Regions from separate parts of the Homo sapiens genome. Here region 1 is linked to region 2. The links are contacts of gene promoters, found by promoter capture Hi-C in human tissues and cell types (Jung and others, 2019). All regions are on one chromosome and are shown on one strand. The core of a region is centred on a gene start or on the middle of the fragment in contact, and the rest is flanking DNA. Distances in the headings are between cores, read along the strand shown.

Region 1 (3,576 bases), core at 1,064-3,563, 230 kb before region 2:
CGGCCGGGGTTTACTCCCCAGCTCCTGGATGGTAAAGCGCCCTGCGGCCCGCGGGTCAGGTCTTTAACGGTCCAGCCAGCGCAGCAAGAGAGCTGGGGAGTCTTCTTGCAGTCCCTTCCTCCTACTCACGCAAAGATCTCCTCTATGCTGGTAGGTGCACCTGCCCTCCACCGATCCTCACCCTGAGCGCAGGTCGTACCTCAAGGCGAAAACCCGCTTAGTGCGTTGGCGGGTGGAGAGCTGCCGCCTTCTTGATCCGGGACTGAGAAGCTGCACTCCCTGACGCCACTGTGGCCAGCACCTCGGGCCGCGCAGACCCCTACATCTCTAATCCCATAGCCCTCCAGGGGTCCTTGGGGCAGTCCCTTTGGAAAGTCTTCGAAGTGCAGGGTACTTTAAGTACCCTGTAGACGCCTTTTATTTAATCCGCACAACAAAAGAACGGGGCAGGAGTGGGGGGAAATTGTTACTTCCGTTTTGTAGATAAGAGAACTGAGCCGGGACGGTGGCTCACGCCTGCAGTCCCAGCACTTTGGGAGGCCAAGGCCGGCGGATCGCTTGAGCCCAGGAGTTCCAGATCAGCCTGGCTTGAACCCTGAATTTCTGTTGAATCCGAAGTTGGATGGTGCAGTGAGCCGTGATTGCGCTGCTGCACTCCAGCCAGGGAGACAGAGGGAGAACCAGTCTCAAAAAAGTAAAAGAAAACAAGAAAGCTGAGGTTTAGGAGATAATTTGTCCAACTTCTAGAGGCAAATCGAGGCTTTATGGCACCAAATCCTGATTCTGATATTTTCACTTCTCTTCCCTCTCCAAACACAAATCGTTGACACATTTTTATTTTATTTTATTTTATTTTATTTTATTTTATTTTATTTTATTTTGACACAGGGTCTCATTCCCTCACCTAGCCTGGAGTGCATTGGCGCGATCTCGACTCACTGCAGCCTCGACCTCCCGAGCTCAAGCAATCCTCCCACTTCAGTCCCCTCAGTAGCTGGGACCACAGGCACTTACCACCACGCCCAGCTAATTTTAAAATTTTTTATAGAGACGAGGTCTCGCCATGTTACCCAGGCTGGTCTCAAACTGCTGAGCTCAAGCGACCCTTCCACCTCAGCCTCCCAAAGTGCTGGGACGACAGGCATGAGCCACTGCAACCGACCATGACAAATTTTAAAATGGAAATAAATTTCATTATATCTCATTAGTATCTCAAACTAATACTAAAAACAGACTTAAGATATTTGGGAAATTATTAAAGGGAAAAGGGAAAAATTAAGGAATTTGGAAAAATCAAAACATGAACTCTAAAATAAAGAAACCCGGCTGGGAGTGGTGGCTCAAGCCTATAATCTCAGCATTTTGGGAGGCCGAGGCAGGTGGATCCTTGAGGTCAGGAGTTCAAGTCCAGCCTGGCCAACATGGTGAAACCCCATCTCTACAAAAATAAATAAATAAATAAATAAATTAGCCGGGCGTGGTGGCATATGCCTGTTGTCCCAGCCACTCGGGAGGCTAAGGCAGGAGAATTGCTTGAACCCGGGTGGCAGAGGTTGCAGTGAGCCAAGATCGTGCCACTGCACTCCAGCTTGGGTGACAGAGTGAGACTCCGTCTCAAAAAATGAAATAAAATGAAGAAAACCCTTTAATACACTGTCATCTTTTTTATCAGTGCCCCCCATGACTTCTAAAACTACAAAAGTGGGAACCAATTTCTGTCCTCTTCCTCCCACCCCATTCCTCCCACCCTGTTTTACTTTGGAGGCTGAGTCCACATGAGTAACAAAGGAGCTATACCTGGCAAATGTTCACCTAGAGTTGAATTGTGGGAGGCTCAAACTCCTCTAATGGCTCTGTTACCCACACTGACAGCAGAAAACTGTCATGTTTGGGTCAACAAGCATGGTTGGGTCAACCTGGTGCCAAAACACCTTCCAAGCCTGTCCCTTCTATGGGGGAAAAAAATGGGTATTTGGTGGGCACTGAGGATTCTGAATTTGATTTTATGGGTGGCTCTCAAAGCCTCACCCTTTAAAATTGAGGGTGAACATTGGTGTACATGTGTGGTTTTTTAGGACATGAGCCTACTGCTTTATTCTTTTCTTTTTCTTGAGACGGAGTCTCGCTCTGTTGCCCAGGCTGGAGTGTGGTGGCGTGATCTCGGCTCACTGCAACCTTCGCCTCCCGAGTTCAAGCGATTCTCCTGCCTCAGCCTCCTGAGTAGTTGGGATTATAGGCACACATCACCATGCCTGGCTAATTCTTGTATTTTTAGTAGAGACAGGGTTTCACCATGTTGGTCAGGCTGGTCTTGAACCCCTGACCTCGTGATCCACCCGCCACAGCCTCCCAAAGTGCTGGGATTACAGGTGTGAGCCACCGTGCCCAGCCTATTGATTTGTTTTCTAATGGCAAATTTTACAGATACAGAAAAGTAAACAAAAAAGTGTAATTCAACCCCTCATACCTATCACTCAGCTTCAACAATAATCAACTCATAGCCCATCTTATTGCATTTCTTTCTGGAGGTTTTTTGTTTCGTTTTGTTTTGTTTTGTTTTGTTTTTTTGAGACAGAGTCTCACTCTGCCTCCCAAGTAGCTGGGACTACAGGCGCCCACCACCACACCTGGCTAATTTTTTGTATTTTTAGTAGAGACAGGGTTTCACCTTGTTAGCCAGGATGGTCTCCATCTCCTGACCTCGTGATCCACCCACCTTGGCCTCCCAAAGTTATGATGAGCACCGGGCTCAGCCTTCTTTCTGGAGTATTTTAAAGCAAATCCCAGACTTCTTTTCTTTTTTTTTCTTTTTTTTTGTTCCAAAATTCTTCAGTTTGAATCTTTAACAGGTTTAAAAAAATTTTTTTTTGTTTTTAGAGATGGATCTTGCTCTGTCACCCAGGCAGGAGTGCAGTGTCACTGAAGCCTTGAACTCCTGGGCTCAAGGGATCCCACGCCTAGGACTACAGGACTACAGGCATGTGCTACCATGCCTGGGTACATTTTTTTTTTTTTGGTCGAGACGGGGGTTCCCAGATGGGTCTCAAACTCCCTTGTTCAAGTGATCTGCCTCTTTGGCTTCCCAAAGTGGTGGGATTATAGGCATGAGCCACTGCGCCCAGCCTAGTTTTATTTTATTTTTTGTAGAGACAAGGTCTCGCTTGTTGCCCAGGCTGGTCTCTAAACTCCTGGCCTCAAGGGATCCTCCAACCTTGGCCTTTTGAAGTGTTGGGATTATGGGCGTAAGCCACTCTTCTTTTGCTTTTTTTATATATAACCTTTATGTGATTGTCACACAGGACAAAATTGAGAATAATTCCTTAATACTATCCATGTTTGAATTTCCTAAGTTTTCTCAAAAATGTCTTTTTACAGTTAGTTTAAGTCAGGATCTAAACAAAGTTCATACATTACATTTGCTTGATGTCTCTCAACTGTCTTATAACCTATAACAATTGCTCCCAATCCATTTTTCATGCCATTACTTTATTTAAAAACCTGGGCCAACCCAGTTCTCAAAAGGTATTGGACATCCTCAGAAAAGATGACTGCTCTATGTTGAACCAAACAACTGAT
Region 2 (3,313 bases), core at 317-2,816:
CTTCCTACCTCTTAGCCTGGATTCCTTCCCTTTCTCATCTCCCCCTAGAAACAAATCCAGAACCTGTCATCCCCTAACCCCTCCTCTGCCCCATCCCTTTCCTCTCACCACTCCTACCTGAAGTGACCCTCTTTCTTCTCTCCTAGTCCCACTGCCAGGAACAGGGACAGCAGCAGCAGAGCAAAGGTCTTCGTGGCCACCATCTTCCAAGGTTATTTCCTGAGCTAAGACAGAAAAAAGCCAGGACATGTTGAGAGAGCAACCAGTAGGGGTTCTGAAAGCTGGAGAGGGGCAAAGCCCTGAGGTTTGGACCCTTTCTTTTCCTTTTTCTTTTTTTTTTTTTTTTTTGAGATGGAGTCTCGCTCTGTCGTCCAGGTGGGAGTGCAGTGGCACAATCTTGGCTCACTGCAACCTCCACCTCCTGGGTTCAAGCCATTCTTCTGCCTCAGCCTCTCGAGTAGCCTGGACTACAGGCATGTGCCACCACTCCCGGCTAATTTTTGTATTTTTAGTAGAGACAGGGTTTCACCATATTGGCCAGGCTGGTCTCGAACTCCTGACCTTGTGATCTGCCCACCTGGGCCTCCCAAAGTGCTGGGATAACAGGCGTGAGCCATCGCGCCTTGCCAGTTTGGACCTTTTCTAAGAGCCTGGGGCAACACCATGGGGGAAGATGAGGGGTGCTGTGCACTGGAGTTAGTGACTAGAAGGGACATGGAATCTTACCAAAAGATGGACCAGGCTGGGTGCAGTGGCTCATGCCTGCAATCCCAGCACTTTGGGAGGCCCAGGTGGGCGGATCACTTGAGGTCAGGAGTTTGAGACCAGCCTGGCCAATATGGTGAAATCCTGTCTCTACATAAAAGACAAAGATTAGCCAGGTGTGGTGGTGCGCGCCTGTGATCCCAGCTATTCAGGAGGCTGAGGCATGAGAATCGCTTGAACCTGGGAGGAAGAGGTTGCAGTGAGCCGAGATTGCGCCAGTGCACTCCAGCCTGGGTGACAGAGCGAGACTCCATCTCTAAATAAATAAATAAAGGAAACATCAGCGCTACCTTCTCATTTCTCTTTCTCTTTTTTTGAGACAGGGTTTCGCTCTGTCACCCGGGTTGGAGTGCAGTGACACAATCGTGGCTCACTGCAGCCTCGACCTCCTGGGCTCAGGCAAACCTTTCACTTCACCCTCCCGAGTACCTAGAACCGCAGGCATGTACCACCATGCCCAGCTAATTTTTTAAATTATGTGTAGAGATCGAGTTTCCCTCCATTGCCCAGGCTGGTCTTGAACTCCTGTGCTCAAATGATCCTCCTACCTCGGCTCCCAAAGTATTGGGATTACAGGCATGAGGCACCGCACCTGACTATCTTCTCACATCTCATATAGAGGAAGAGAAAACTAAGATGCCAGGGCTGCTGAGCATCTCAGGGTTGCCAAGATCCATCTGCTCTCGGGTCATCTCATCCATCCCTGTCTCCACTTCTCTTACCAGACTTCCTTTCCAGCTCTTCCAGAAGAAGGACAGATAGGGGTCTCCTTCCCCTGATTTCTGGACCTTCTGAGCCTGCTGAAGAAATCATGCCCCAGCTCCTTTATATTAGGCATAGACCTGCTGATTAGCCTAAAAGCATCTTATCTCAAGAAATTAAGCCCACAGCTCCTGCCACATTAAGTCCATTTTACACATAATAGAGTTGCCCTTTCCACCTGAACTGTGCTAATTGGTGATTAACATTTGGCTATCTCCAGCTGCTGTCTGGGGCCTGCCTGTGGGTAGGGTACCCTAAGTACCCCCTTTTTTCTTCCTCCTCCTCCCTTCTGGGCACAGGGCCCACTACTATTCTTCTATGCCCTACTTCCTTTACAGTTGCCCTCAGTTAGAAGGGATACTTGTAGGCCAGGCGCGATGAATCACGTCTGTAATCCCAGCGCTTGGGAGGACGACACGGGCGGATCACCTGAGGTCAGGGGTTCGAGACCAGCCTGGCCAACATGGTGAAACCCAGTCTCTACTAAAAATACAAAAATTAGCTGGGCATGGTCGTGCACGGCTGTAATCCCAGCTACTTGGGAGGTTGAGGCAAGAGAATCACTTGAACCTGGGAGGCAGAAGTTACAGTGAGCCAAGATCGAGTTCACTGCACTCCAGCATGGGCAACAAAGAGAGACTCTCTCAAAAAAGAAAAAAAGAAAAGAAAAAAGAAAGGGGGCCGGGCGCAGTGACTCACGCCTGTAATCCCAGCACTTTGGGAGGCCGAGGCGGGTGGATCACGAGGTCACGAGATCGAGACCATCCTGGCTAACACAGTGAAACCCCGTCTGTACTAAAAACACAAAAAATTAGCCGGGCATGTTGGCAGGTGCCTGTAGTCCCAGCTACTCGGGAGGCTGAGGCAGGAGAATGGCGTGAACCCGGCAGGCGGAGGTTGCAGTGAGCCGAGATGGCGCCACTGCCTGCCAGCCTGGGCGACGGAGCGAGACTCCATCTCAAAACAAACAAACAAACAAAAAAAAAAAAAACAAACAAAAATTAGCCAGGCATGGTGGCACGTGCCTGTAGTCCCAGCTACTTGGGAGGCTGAGGCAGGAGAATCGCTTGAACCCAGACCTGGAGGCAGAGGTTGTAGTGAGCCAAGATCGTGCCACTGCACTCCAGCCTGGGTGACAAAACAAGACTCTGTCTCAAAAAATAAAAATAAAAATAAAAAAGGGTACTTGTAGTGAAGACAGACTTGGGGTAGGGTGGCACTAACTGGCAGGGGGACACTCCCACAAGGCAACAGGCTACTTCTGGGTGGGAGAGAGTAGGTCCACAGTCATCTGAATCCCAGCTCTGGACAGTGGCCTATGGCTTTGGTGATGTGGCAATGCCCCCATCACATTATCTAGAGAGGTGTCCCAAGGGCTCAATGTTGAGGGAATATGAAGGATCGGGGTTTCCTAGGGACAGCTGGATAAACTGAGAACATACATTCAAGCTGTCTTCCTGCTCAGGGGCAGGATAAAGCAGGAGAAAGAGACATGTTTGTACCTCAGGGGCTCACAGGAGGGTGGGGTAGTTACAACTTTATCTATAGAGATTTAGGAGCCCCTCTCCTCATATGTCCTACTGTCCTGTACAAGAGAAGTATGTCATCCTGTCTCTTCTATCAGAGTGAAGACCCTGGAGTTATGCTGTGCCTCTCTATTATACAGGAGCCACTCCAAGGCAGGGGCTTTCTGTCCCTGATCTGCCTGGGAGCTCTCTGAGAGGAGGAGGAGAGCTGGAGGCGATGTTCCCCCAGCACACTGAGGCTTTCTGAGGCTAAGGGCTGT

The links. The method cuts DNA at HindIII sites, captures the fragments that hold promoters and counts their contacts. A contact is called where the count stands out against the background at its distance.
Region 1: a fragment that was not itself captured here is called in contact with the fragment with the promoter of GIP in region 2 in 3 of the 25 tissues and cell types used here (aorta, dorsolateral prefrontal cortex and spleen).

What each region holds. Positions count from the first base shown.
Region 1 is chr17:48,738,857-48,742,432 of GRCh38, forward strand. All of the region lies in intron 2 of LOC105371811 (a long non-coding RNA gene), which reads left to right. Among named protein-coding and RNA genes, the nearest start is that of HOXB13, 12 kb to the left of the region's middle. The HindIII fragment of the contact is 8,003 bases long and covers 1-3,576 here.
Region 2 is chr17:48,967,030-48,970,342 of GRCh38, forward strand. GIP (gastric inhibitory polypeptide) reads right to left here and starts at 1,567. Exons shown (of 6, transcript NM_004123.3): 1 at 1,488-1,567; 2 at 118-224. The coding sequence starts at 203. RefSeq lists an enhancer at 1-154. The HindIII fragment of the contact is 44,226 bases long and covers 1-3,313 here.